Regions from separate parts of the Homo sapiens genome. Here region 1 is linked to region 2. The links are contacts of gene promoters, found by promoter capture Hi-C in blood cells and fetal thymus (Javierre and others, 2016). All regions are on one chromosome and are shown on one strand. The core of a region is centred on a gene start or on the middle of the fragment in contact, and the rest is flanking DNA. Distances in the headings are between cores, read along the strand shown.

Region 1 (6,833 bases), core at 2,223-4,722, 1.1 Mb before region 2:
TTTCAGGGGGTATGACCTCACAATCATAAATTCTTGGTATCACTGCAAATAAGGCCCTTTTAAAAACCATCTGAAATACAATAAATGGTTAGGTTATGGACATCAGATACACGTAAAAGACAAAATCAACTGTTCTTATAGTATGTAAATAGTATTTGTGGTTTGGGGTAAAGTTTCTCATGCTAGCAAATACAATTCAGAATGTTAACTCTCAACTCAGAAGGTGATATCTACGGGAAAACTGATAAAATAATCCATATTCCCCCCTAAACTTATCTAGTCAGCTTAACTAGAATATGTCTTGAATCTTCTCATTGGGAACACGGGGGGATGAGTATTACTTCATATTTGTGTTTATTCCATAAATTCCTCTAAGGAAAGTATTTTAATAAATTATGACAAATAAAATTAAACAGTTGATATAAATTATGAAAAACCATGTTGAAATAAAGGAAAATGTTAGCAGAGTAACAGTAATTACAAATTAGTAAAAGAGGAGGCCATGTGCAACACGTGCTAAGAACTAATATCTCTGCAGTATTAAAAAGTAGATAGAAAACTATAGTTTGTGTAATGATACAGAAACATCTCAAAGATATGAAGAGTGAAGAATAAGGTAGAAAACCTATACAAAGCTGAAAAGTATGAACTAACCATACACCATAACATGGATGAACCTCAAAATACTAACAGAATCTAGACAGCAGAATACATATGCCATTTATGACAACTTTAAAGCAGGCCAAATGAATTGATGGAGTTAGAAATCAGGATGTGGTTTTCTCAAAGGAGGGGGAATGACTGAGGACAGAGACTTTGCTAGTGTCTTAGCTAGTGCTAGTGGTATCTGATTTCCTTACCTGGGTAGGAGCTATATGTATGTGCTCACTTTGTAACTGAGCTGCCCACTTTTAAAATGTGCTAACTTCATTAAAAAAAGGTAAAAGCAAGGTAGTGAATGGAGTTTAAATTAGGTCACTTTCGTGGGGGAAGAGAGGTTAGAACTATTCCTATACATTTGTTAAAGCATAAACACTAGGAAAACACCAAGAGACTAGTAATTATGGCTGATCCAGGGAGACTTAGATGGCTGGGAGCTAGGAAAGGAGGAAGACTACTTTTCATGGTTTTAGTCTATTGCAATTTTGCTTTTGGACCATTTGTATGTGTTACCTATCAAAATAAAAGTATGCTAAATTAGTAAACTTAATCAAATTACCCACAATACAGAAGAGGAACCATACAAATGGGGTGGTGAAGGTGGTAACAGAGAGAAACAATAGGGAGGAATAGAGAAACCACCACCACTGACATTAAAACGATTCGAGACTACTCAAGTACCAGATAATCCCAAACCCCATTTTATAGCTATCATTTATTGGGCATGGACTGTATTACTTGTGTTATACATTTATTATTGTCAATCTCCACAACAATCCTGCAAGAAAGGCACTATTTCACATTTAAAAAATTATGCTCAGAGAATGATTTGCCTGAAGTCATGGAACTAATAAGTGGCGGAGCTTACATTTGAACTCAGAACATTTGTACTCCTCTGTGAGGACACCAGCCAGTTTCATGGCCTAGTGACAATACACCTTCCTGAGGGAAAAACATGCAAAAGGTAGAAATATTATATTTAGGCTGGGCGCAGTGGCTCATGCCTGTTACCACAGCACTTTGGTAGGCCAAAGCCGGAGGACTGCTTGGACCCAGGAGTTCAGGACCAGCCTGGGCAATGTAACTAGGCCTTGTCTCCACAAAAATAAAAATTAATAAAATTTAAAAATAAAAAAATTAGCCAGGCACGTGGTGTGTACCTATGGTCCCAGCTACTCAGAAGGCTGAGGTGGGAGGATCACTTGAACTGGGGAGGTCATGGCTGCAGTGAGCCATGATCGTGCCACCTACACTTCAGCCCAGGCCTGTTCCATAAAATAAAAAATACTGCATTTAACTTTCTTTGTTGTCACTGATAGAAAAACTTGAGCAATAACTGCTATGATACATAAATTGCACATATCTAGAAAAAAATTTCAGACTTAAAAAGCCATGATAGAATTAAAAAAAAAAAAAGCCATGGTAGAATTTTAAGTCGTATTTGAGTGATCTGGGGAGCCCAAGTTTTCCATTTACCTACAAGGAGGCCTTACCCGACAGAACAACACCCAGATAGAATGACTGAGCATCCAATCCAAGAATCAGAATCAGTAAACAAGAGTGTCACTGGCTTTATGAGTTCTGTTCAAACAGTATATTAGCTAAAGCTGCCTCCCACCCCAAATTCCTTTTCTAATCATAAAATGTAAGTCTTGGCAGTTACCAGAAAAGGCTATTTTGTAAAAATGGCTTTCACTGTGAAATTAACCAATTCCACAGATGATAGCAGGGTCAGAAAAATAGTGCCAGAGTTCCAGAAGCTGTAGAATTAATTTGATACTTTCAACACAGGATTAGTTAACCAAAGGCCAGGTGTGGATAACAGGAAACAGGTTGTCTTAGACTCTACACTCTAACACGACTCTTGGAAAAGTCAACATTGGCATGACTCAGTTTACACTTATGCAAAAATACTAATATCTACCTCACAGTGGTAATGAGAGACATAATTAGGGTCTGCAAGCATTTTTCAGGTCACAAGATTAAAGGCTGTTTCTGAGGGTACTGCATGCATTTCCTGTAGATATGAGTACACTGCATTCTTAAATATATACTAAAAAGCGACCTCCCAGCACATATAACTAATTTTCTTTGGCAAGATTTTCTTCAGAAGTACACAGGCAACGATATTTGTAAACAAATCCTTTAGCAGGGAACTAATCAACTCTTCCGATGGCTCTAGCTTCCACTTCCGAGGCCCGCTGTGATGGTAACCAACCAGGTTCCATCTGGCTTACCAATGCTGACGTTCCCAACTTCCTAGCTGTCAGATCGATAGGAACCTGAAACTAACTGTTTCCCGTTCCTTTGAAAAGGAGAAATTACGGACCCTCGGGTTGTTTGGGCCGTAGATGAAAAAAACAAGCGGGGGGGGGGGCGCGGGGGAGGAGAGGAGGGAGGGTGGGAAGAAGAGAAAATAAAGGGAGATTGAAATATTGGGAAAAGATACGAGGGCAAGGACTGGGGACACAGTAGCCCACCAGGACCCACATAGGGTGATATCTACATAAGACTCCAGGGCAATAACGTCAACAGCTCGGTAACCCCTGCGACACCCTGACAGTCCTGCCGTCTGGAAGTGCCTTTGTCCCGGCCCGTCGGCCAGTCCCGCCGCTTCTCTCCCATACCCCTAGGCGCTCAGCCCTACGAGGCTGCCCGGAGGCCGCCTAAAAGCCGGCGGCGCTCGCGCCCGCCCCTCAGCTCGCCGGGCTCGGCGGGACATACTAACCGGCTGGTAGACGCCATCTTCACGGCGACTGCGGTGCCCGCAACAAGACACAACAGACACACCGAAAGCAGGAAGCGAATGTGGCGAAGAGACGCGCAGAGATGAGTTTTTATAGACGACTCACCCACGCAGTCGTAGCAGAGCAGGGCTACGGGTCGGGAGAAGGGCCAAGAACAGTGAGATCCCATACGTCACGTGCTTTGCGATTTCTTACGTTCTTACTCCGTTTCTGTAATTTGCTATGTTGCTAAGCGAGTCAACGTAACTACCTAGGAAAAGTCTCATGGGAACCCTGCAAAGGGGCTACAACAGAGCTACTCTCAATCTGACAGTTAAAACACAAAGAAAACCCTGGCTTCGTAGTGGTGCCAAAGCCTGCATCCCTAATAGTTTAACCACCCCTTCCTCTCCCACCTTCTCACGGCTACCTTCTCACGGCCACCACCTACCCCGCCCCCAGCCCCCCACCCCGCGTCAGGCACTCCCATTTGAGCCAGTTCTTACGTGCCCCAAGGGTGATTCTTTCTAAGAAATTTGAAATAAAAGGAGAAACTCACTTAGGTCATCCAGAACAGGTGTCTGTTCAGGATCTGTCATCAGCTAGCATGTTGTCTTCTTAGGCACGTCCTTTATACAGGTCATGTAAGTTTATATAGGTTATGGTATCTTGCCTTGCATACCCTTTTAGAATTGGCAGAAGATGAAACAAAACTACGTGAAACCAATGTGTACACAAGAGGCACGACGATATGGGCCATGCTCTGATCATTTTTTTTTCACGGCCTTTGTAACGTTGGCTGATAGCTACATATAGAAAACTTGCGAGAACATCTAGATATTGCAAAATATCCCTAGATTTATTAATTAGCCAAACTAACGTCAAAATTGTAATACCACTATTACTAACAACAATAACAGTTACCGGTGGAGAGTATTCACGTTCTTGGCGTTTTGAACAAAGAACTGGACACAACGCACAAACTAAGGAAAGAATGAAGGAATAAAGGCAGAGATTTATTGAAAACGAAAAGGTAATACCAGCTCAAGACTCCTTTTGCAGAATTTTCGGGGGTTTAAATACCCTCTAGAGGTTTCCCATTGGTTACATGGTGTACACCCTATGTAAATGAAGTAGTGGCTCCACAATCAGTCTGATTGGTTGTGGAAAGCAACCAATCAGAGGCTAAAGTGAAGTTACAAAGTTACACTCCTATGCAAGCGTCTGATTGGTTGCAGAAAGCAACGAATCAGAGATACTTTCAATTTCACATCTGCCACACGGCTAAAGTGTGTGTGTGTGTGTGTGTGTGTGTGTGTGTGGTTGTGTAGTGGGGAGGGGGTTGCAAAGGGAGTAACGTCTGGTTCTTTTGTTACTTAGGTGTGGAAAGTTGGGGTTTTCCTTTTTTTTTTTTTTTTTTGAGACGGAGTCTTGCTCTGTCGCCCAGGCTGGAGTGCAGTGGCGCGATCTGGGCTCACTGCAAGCTCCGCCTGCCAGGTTCACGCCATTCTCCTGCCTCAGCCTCCCGAGTAGCTGGGACTACAGGAGCCTGCCACCACGCCCGGCTAATTTTGTTTTTGTATTTTTAGTAGAGACGGGGTTTCACCCTGTTAGCCAGGATGGTCTTGATCTCCTGACCTCGTCATCCGCCCGCCTTGGCCTCCCAAAGTGCTGGGATTACAGGCGTGAGCCACCGCGCCCGGCCGGGGTTTTCCATTTGATTTAGTTCTAGGAAATCAGTGTGAATCTGCCTTAGGTTCCCTGCCTTCAGACAGTATTCTCCTGCGGCAACACTTTGCTGACAACTATTCTTGAAAATACGGGGATTGGTATTTTCATGGTGGTTTTCATGGGGCTGAGAACTTAGAAGATAATGACTGCTTCCTTCATCTGGGGATGGGATTTAAATGTAATGGAGCACTCACTGTTTTCTTGAGAAGGTGGGAGATACTAGCTTCCTTAGAAAGAAAAAGGGGTGCGAGAGGCAGGATTTTAGGAACTCAAATCTAGGTGGGAACCGGGGAGCATGATTTCTTTTTTCTTTCCCAATCCCAATCTTCTATTTTGTAATTCTGTAATTTTAAAAACTTGACTGTACTCTTGTGGGGGTTTTTTCCTCCCTCAATATTTTTGTCAAGTGCAACCAGGAAAGGGCTTGGGGGTGCTGCACCTCAGTCCAGTAGAGGTTTCATAGTAAAGCATCTTAACTTGGAGGAAGAGGAGGAATAAGACAACTGTGCATCTCTTAAGGATCCAGAACATGGACCTGCACCTAGTGGATTCATGGTAGGCATTCAATAATGTTTGTTGAAGGAAGAAATTGAAACCCTAGAAAAGGGAGGCAGCACTACTGGTTAAATTAACTCCTGCCCCACCTGGAGAGTCTCTTGTCTGTCATAAACTTGTAAGAATTTCTTTTGTATTAAAATAGAAGGCACCTTAGGTAAGCCATTCGTTTTCTTTTGTTAGTACAGCACTGGAAATTTACAAAGCATTTTAATCAACATAATCCCATTTAATATTTATTATTGATCTTGAGGTTAAAATACACACACACACACACACACACACACACACACACAGAGCTGGGGTTTTATCACTTGGGAACCAATAACCTAACTAGCATTCACCAAAACTTCTGGTTTGTATAATAATTGTTACTTAAATTAATTATGTAAATTAAAATGATTTAAAGCAATGGTTTAAATTAATTCATCTTTTTACTTAGAAAGTTATTCGAAAAGTTTATATCACTACTGTGAAATCTCAAGTTGATGTGCTATAGTTCATTTTAAGTATAAAATGTTTTACATGACTAATAAATGATTTAAAAATGCTTGTGACCCACCTGGCATCGTGAATCACGCCTGTAATCCCAGCACGTTGGGAGGCCGAGGCAGGTGGATCACCTGAGGTCAGGAGTTCAAGACCAGCCTGGCCAACATGGTGAAACCCTGTCTCTCCCAAAAATACAGAAATTAGCCAGGTGTGTTGACACACACCTGTAGTCCCAGCTACTTGGGAGGCTGAGGCAGGAGAATCGCTTGAACCCAGGAGGTGGAGGTTGCAGTGAACCAAGATTGCACCACTGCACTCCAGCCTGGGTGTCAGAGCGAGACTCCATCTAAAAAAAAAAAAAAATGCTTGTGACCTAGCTAGATTTCTTTTTTAAAAATCAACTTTATTGAGATATAATTACATATAGTAAAATTCACCTGTTTAAAATTTAATGATTTTTGGCAACTGAGTTGTACAACCATCCCCGCAATCCTGTTTTAGCACATTTCCATCATCCCAATACGATCTTTTATGCCCATTTACATTATATGCCTATCCCATTTCCAGCCCCATGACCCTCTAATCTACTCTCTGTCTCTATGGATTTGCCTTTCTTGGGCTTTTCATATAAATGGAATCATATGATACGTCGTCTTTTGTGTCTGGATT
Region 2 (6,588 bases), core at 2,160-4,659:
GGATTGGAGGTGGGAGGATGAGGGAGGGCTGAGTTTTGACTAGATGACTCGTAAGCTGGGATTAGTGTGTGGCTGTTCATGATGCCACTAACAGAGATGAAAGGATACAGGAGGACGAACAGGTTTGAAATTATGAGTTCAGTTTTCAAAATGTTCAGCTTAGGTGAATATAAAACATGTATAGATGGTCTCTGACTTACTATGGTTTGACTTTATAGCTGTGTGAAAGTGACGTGCATTTAGTAGAAACTATAATCCAATTTTGAATTTTGATCTTTTTGCAGGCTAGTGACATGAAGTAGGATACTCTTTTCCAAGGCTGGGCAGCGTCTCCCAGTCAGCGATGTAATCACAAGGGTAAACAACTGATATTCTACAATGTACTGTGCTGCCAGATGACTTTGCCCAACTGTAGGCTAATGTAAATGTTCTAAGCACATTTAAGGTAGGTTAGGTGAAGTTATGATGTTCAATAGGTTAGGCATATTAAATGCATTTTTGACTTGTGATATTTTCAGTTTATGAAGGGCTTATTGGGATGTAACCTCAAGTAAGTGGAGAAGTATCTGCATAGAAGGGAAAAAAGGAGGAAACAAGAAAAGGGTGGAGAACAGGGTGAATCAATCAGGATGGAGGAGGAAAAAATGCTCTGCCCATTTCCGGGGCAACAGTAATACACATAGTGTATCTGTGAGCTTTTCTTGTAGTTGTATTTCCAGAGGTTGCCTCCTTGAAACTTGGTTCCAGCAACTGGGTGGACCCTGAAAAAAGGTAAATAATTTGATTCATGGTTTCCTATCTGGTGATCAACTCATTGTTGCCACCGTTTGCTCTATGAAAAAAAAAAAGTTTTTTAATCTGTGGTTCAAACTGCTCCAATGTCAGTTTGTCTTTTTCCAGATTCCTGAATGTTTGAATAACTTTGTCCATGTCTCAAACACTGTTTCCAAAGTGGCAATAATACAATCCAGTATGTGTGTGTGTGTTTCTATAGGTCATCCTTCAAGCTCTGGATGACTCTTCTGCCACAAATCTTACCCATCTGTGAACTGTTACAGCTCTTTTATTTGCACCTTAAAATTCAGAACTGGATCATAGCCTGTCTCTAAAGTTATTTTTTCTAGACTTGACATTTTCTCAAGGAGTACAGGTTACTGAAACAGAAGAGAAATTAGTCCAATAACATCTCTTTTAAATGTCTTGAAAATAAACATTGGTGACAGTTTTGGTTCATTATCAAATCAGAACCCCTGAAGTGAAACCTGAGTATTGGCACTTACTAAAAGTGCCCTGGAGGATTCCAGAGTAGAGTCACAATCAAGAACCACTGACTTAAATGGCCAAGAGAGCCCCCCACCTCCGCATCACTAAGTATATCTTCAAAGAAAATGAAACATAATATTTGGCTAAAGAGAACTTTTAACAAACACTAATCATTAATAAATAATAAATCTTGTTTTAGGCCAAATATATATTTTACATTATGAAAGTGCTCAAGAATTTGGAGATATAGAAGAACACATAATCATGTGTATATAAAAAGTCATCACAAAAAGAATCATCGTTCATGTTTTAGAATTCTTTTTTTTTTTTCTAGGCAAGAACTTTAATGAATTGAACTGTTACTGACAACATAAAAAACCAGTATAATATATACAAAATTATCATTTTATGTCAGGATAAAATTTATCATGTTGGCAACAGAATATGTCCTGCCGACCTCCAAGTGGCTGGCACAGTACATCCACCCCGTGACAGGCCCACTGGGACTGTGGTGAACGTGCCTGTACCTCAGTACAAAGTCCCCTTTCCCTGAGAAATGTACAGAAGGAGAGATGAAGAGCGCGTATCCAAAAGGAAGAGGAAGAGGCTGGGTGCCCTGTGCCCCGAGCTCAGAACTTCGGGGGGATGACCGGCCAGTAATTAGGCTGCTTTGGATCACAGTGCTTGTCAAAGCTCAGCTGCACGTTAGCCTCCATGGCCTGGATCTTGGCGGCGCTGTCCCAGTACAAACGCTTCATTTCGGCCTGGCGCCGCTCACCAGGCCTCTCAGCTGGGGCCTCTACCGACCGGCGGGTGTTGCAGTACAGGTCGTGTTCAGCGTTCACGTAGCTGTTCAGGCGCTCCGCATCCAGCTGTTGCCGCCGCAGTAGTTCTTCTCTGTGCCTCTCTGTCTCTGCAAAGTACTGGCGGAGCTCTTCGGTGATTTCCATATTGCTCAGGTCACATGCTACCTCTGCATCTGACTCGGTCTCCATCTCTTCCTCCTTGGATAAGGCTTGGTCTTCTCTTGTGGATGCCTGGATCCTACTGCTGCCATGTGGATGTTGCCCAGACCCTCTGAAATGTGAAGAACTGCAGGGGGAGTCCTGCTAGGCCACATGATGGTCATAGAAGGACTGAGGATACGCAGCCTGGTTATCGTAAGAGCTTTGGGGAAGAAGCGCAGGAAGGAAGAACCATGGAAGACTGAAACAGGATTCCACCGCCTTCCTGTAGGCATTGTGGTGGCTTTGCATCCAAGCCATTGCTTGATGATAATGTTGCCAGTATCTTGCATATACTGGATGAGAATACCAAGGCCTGGTAGCTTTTGATGTTGATGCCTTCACCACTGCCATCTCCGATTGTGAAAGTCCAAATGGGTGCCGAAACTTGTGGGCGCGCAGCTTGCAGATCCTGGGCGGTGGCCAAGCAGGCCATGTTTTAGAATTCTTTCCAGGCGGGTCGCATTGGCTCACGCCTGTGATCCTAACACTTTGGGAGGCGGAGACGGGGCTGGGGGTGGGGGGATCGCTTGAGTCCAGGAGTTGGAGACCTGCTTGGGCAACATGGCAAAACCCCCATCTCTATAAAAATAATTTAAAAATTTTTTAAAAGAATTATTATTTCCATTTTATTTCAGTGCTTTGTCCTTTAAGAAAATTTATTGACATAGCGATAATCAGACTCCATACGCTATTTTGTATCTTGCTTTTCAAATTTGCCACAGGCTTCTAGAAACGTCCCAGACTTCTGTGTCTCCATGGAGGAAACCCCGTAAGTACTTACAAATGTTATGATTAGTCATCCCTAGCCAATACTAAGCAAAAGGTAGGCATGCGGTTTTATTAGTTTGGGCAGGAAGAAGGCATTCCAACCGGCTTCTTTCGCTCTTGCCAGGTTCAAACATGGCGGGCCGCAGCCGGCCCTTCCCGTACACTCGGCTTGCTTTCCCACAACCCCCGCCAATCTTTAGCGCTCCTTTTTTACCTTCCTTCCCCGTCAGCGGCTCCAGAGGGTCAGCACCTCCGAGCGTGACAGCGGACCTGCTTCCCGCCCCCCACGCGAGGGCCCGCCCACCAGCCCGCGTCAGCCAATAGCAGGCCGCGCCGATGGGGCTGGTAGCGCCGGTCGGCCCCGCCTCCCCAGCCTCGCTGTGGCCTGCGGCTCCCGGGCTGGTAGCGCGCCGCTCTCGGTCGCGCGGAGTGATCGTGTGGAATCGCGGGTCGCGGACGCTCGCCGCCGGCCATAGCTCAGCCTAGCGCCGCCAAGGCCGACGGCCCTCAGCCTCTGCCATGGACTTCGAGGACGGTAAGCGCTGCCTCTGGCTGGTCGGCGCAGCTGGCAGGAGGCGGGGTGGCCTACGCAGGGGGTCTGTTTACCGTCTCAAGATGGCCGTGTGGGCTTTGTTCTGCGGGCCCGGAGGCCGCCCGCCCGCCCCGGGCCCAGCGCCCGGAGTCGGCCTCTTTGGGGACCCACGCGCCCCGATTCGGCCCGCTCGGCGCCCGCTGCCGGCGGAGACAAGAGAACTCGGTGTCCGGTAGGACGCGCCTAGAGCGCGAGAGCCTCCGGGCTGGAGCCCCAGACTCGCCTTGGCCCCTGGTAGTGGAAATTGCCCCGACGTCTCCAACTTCCCGGTCTCGGGCAAACGGGCGAGTGCGGCCTCACCCACCTAGTCTCGCATTCGCCCCACAGGGCAGCGACCCAGACCGTCCGTTTAGTTAATCCTCAGCCTCGGGTTACTTCTTGCCAGATAGAATTTTCAGAGGCTTGTTCACAGTGATGTTTCTGTTTGTCCCGGTTTAAGATGAGTTGAAAGGGTGTCTGTAAGTGATATGTATAGATAAATATCTATGCAAAATGGAAAGCAAGATGTTTCCTGGTTAGTAAACTGGGGTGTTTATCACCAAAAATTACCTGCTTATTAATCCCTAACTTGAAATATTTATGTGAACCAAAGCACTTTTCTTTGGATCGTGTGTAGGTAGGATTTAAGTTAATCAGAATTTTGGCACAGCAAGCATCAAATGTCCTTCACATTTAGACCTGTACACAGCCTTGTAAGTGTTTGACTTACGGATTAAATAAACTGTATTTTAGCAATACTTTTCAGTTGTCTCAGATACTAATTCTTTAAACCACTTTTACAGGGTCACAAAGTAATATTAATTTGGTCTTCACTTTTGTTTTCAAACCTTGCTTGGAATTGGTGTCAAGATAAAGTGGTATGTAGTGACAACATTAGGGAGACATGGGAAAGGACTTATGTGATTAAACTGGATTTAATCCTGAGTAACCAGGCATGCTTAAGTAAAACCAGTTCACTAAGTAGGCTGTAAACTTTTAACCCCACCAAAAAAATGATCTTTAAATGAGGTGTGATCTCAGCATATGTCTTACTCGATGAGCTTTTGATTTTTCATAACATTTCATGCAACAAAGAATTAAAGCTTTCATATCTAGGTACAGATTTGTGAAAGGGGACTGGAATAGCCCTCTTGTAGATACTTTTCAGTTACTTTGAAATAGTAAGTTCAGCTCTTAAGAGTAGCACACTCTCGTGGTTTTGTTTGTTTTGGTTGGACTTTAACTCATTTTGATGTAGATACCTTTAAACTATGAATATTTGGGCTGGGCACGATGGCTCACACCTGTAATCTCAGCACTTTGGGAGGCGGAGGCAGAAGAATCCCTTGAACCCGGGAGGCGAAGGTTGCAGTGAGCCGAGATCGTGCCATTGCACTCTAGCCTGGGCAACAAGAGCCAAACTTCGTCTGAAAAAAAAAAAACAAAAAACCAACAACAAAACAAAAAACTATGAATATTTGAAGTGGCCAGAGTTGGGAGTGAAAATAAAAAATATATTATTGTATTTTCATGCTGTAGTTTGATGATAATGCCAACACCCAAGGTATAGCAGAGGCTAACAAAGTGGAGGTGGGGCAGTAGAAACAGTTCTTTCCACTCCCCACCCAAGGCAATAAGGGAATCCATTTCTATGGAGAATTGAAAAACAATAATAAAATGTAGTATGTCTGCTTTCTGTTATTGCCATATGCCAGAATTCTAAACAGTGTCAGTGATAGAAATTCTAAACAATATTAGTGATGAAATACGCCCTGTCTCACTGCCCAAATATACCACTGCTGTATTTGGAAGATGGAGTTTGACTAACACCATATATGAATCTATTCCTGTATAGTGTAGCAGGATTCTGTTGTATCCAGATGACCACTATATTAAATTCTGTTCTTTCAGTATATATTTGTAAAATTAACTAAAGAATTTAACAGTTGTTAAATTAGTTTTGATGAGGAAATTGGCAATATGGTTTTCAGTGATGACACATTCTGCTTGAATATAGAACACAGTCATATATGTATATGCATATGCATGTCTCAGATAAGATCTTGAAATCTTTTTTTTTTTGAGACAGAGTCTCGTTCTGTCGCCCAGGCTGGAGTGCAGTGGTGCAGTCTTGGCTCACTGCAGCCTCTGCCTCCTGGATTCAAGTGATTCTTCTGCCTCAGCCTCCCTAGTAGCTGGGACTACAGGCACGCACCACCAGGCCCGGCTAATTTTTATATTTCCAGTAGAGAAAGGGTTTCACCATATTGGACGGGCTGGTCTCGAACTCCTGACCTCGTGACCCGCCCACCTCACCTTCCCAAGTGCTGGGATTACAGGCGTGAGCCACCGTGCCCGGCCAAGATCTTGAAATCTTTAAAGAGCAAATTAAATGGTAAAAGAAATTAACTTAGCAAAAATTTCATGTTACGTACAATTCTCAGATGTCTTTGCTTTTGCATTATTTGATACATAATTTAATCTATCTGCCTTTGTGTTACTTGGTACAAATCAGTGCTGAATCCCCTCTTTTGGCTGTTATTATGTATCAGGTGTTGTAAACTAATGTTTACCATAATTTGGATAATAAACCTACCATTTGGGGAGATAGTGAAGAAAAAAGAGATACATTTTCTGGAATGGAGTATTGGTAATTATTTGTTTTAACTATTCTCAGTTTTGCAGATAATTGGGTTAATGTCATTTTAAAAATTGTGCTTGTTTTTTACTGGATCGGCATATAATTTTGAATTATTGCTAATATCACACTAATTCCTTTTTGTTAAATGTGTCTTCATAGATTACACACACTCCGCCTGCAGGAATACTTATCAGGGCTTTAATGGTAAGTATCCTCTTTCAGCTTTTCTCTTCATGCGCATAAAAATATAGTATCAATGTAAAAGGCCAGTTCTACCTATTTCAGTCCTTGTTTTGGTTCTTGATATATCATTTATGTGTTAATATTGTCTTACTATA

The links. The method cuts DNA at HindIII sites, captures the fragments that hold promoters and counts their contacts. A CHiCAGO score of 5 or more calls a contact.
Region 1: a contact is called between the fragment with the promoter of GTF2B here and the fragment with the promoter of ZNF326 in region 2, in 6 of 17 cell types (total CD4 T cells, naive CD4 T cells, activated CD4 T cells and 3 more). The highest score is 13.6, in total CD4 T cells.

Annotation. Positions count from the first base shown.
Region 1 is chr1:88,888,095-88,894,927 of GRCh38, forward strand. It overlaps GTF2B (general transcription factor IIB), which reads right to left and starts at 3,473. Exons shown (of 7, transcript NM_001514.6): 1 at 3,389-3,473. The coding sequence starts at 3,405. RefSeq lists an enhancer at 3,649-3,758. The HindIII fragment of the contact is 16,776 bases long and covers 1-6,833 here.
Region 2 is chr1:89,991,701-89,998,288 of GRCh38, forward strand. It overlaps ZNF326 (zinc finger protein 326), which reads left to right and starts at 3,410. Exons shown (of 12, transcript NM_182976.4): 1 at 3,410-3,573; 2 at 6,410-6,454. The coding sequence starts at 3,558. It also overlaps the pseudogene GEMIN8P4. RefSeq lists enhancers at 3,062-3,628, 3,629-4,194, 4,076-4,125 and a silencer at 3,216-3,855. The HindIII fragment of the contact is 7,808 bases long and covers 1-4,710 here.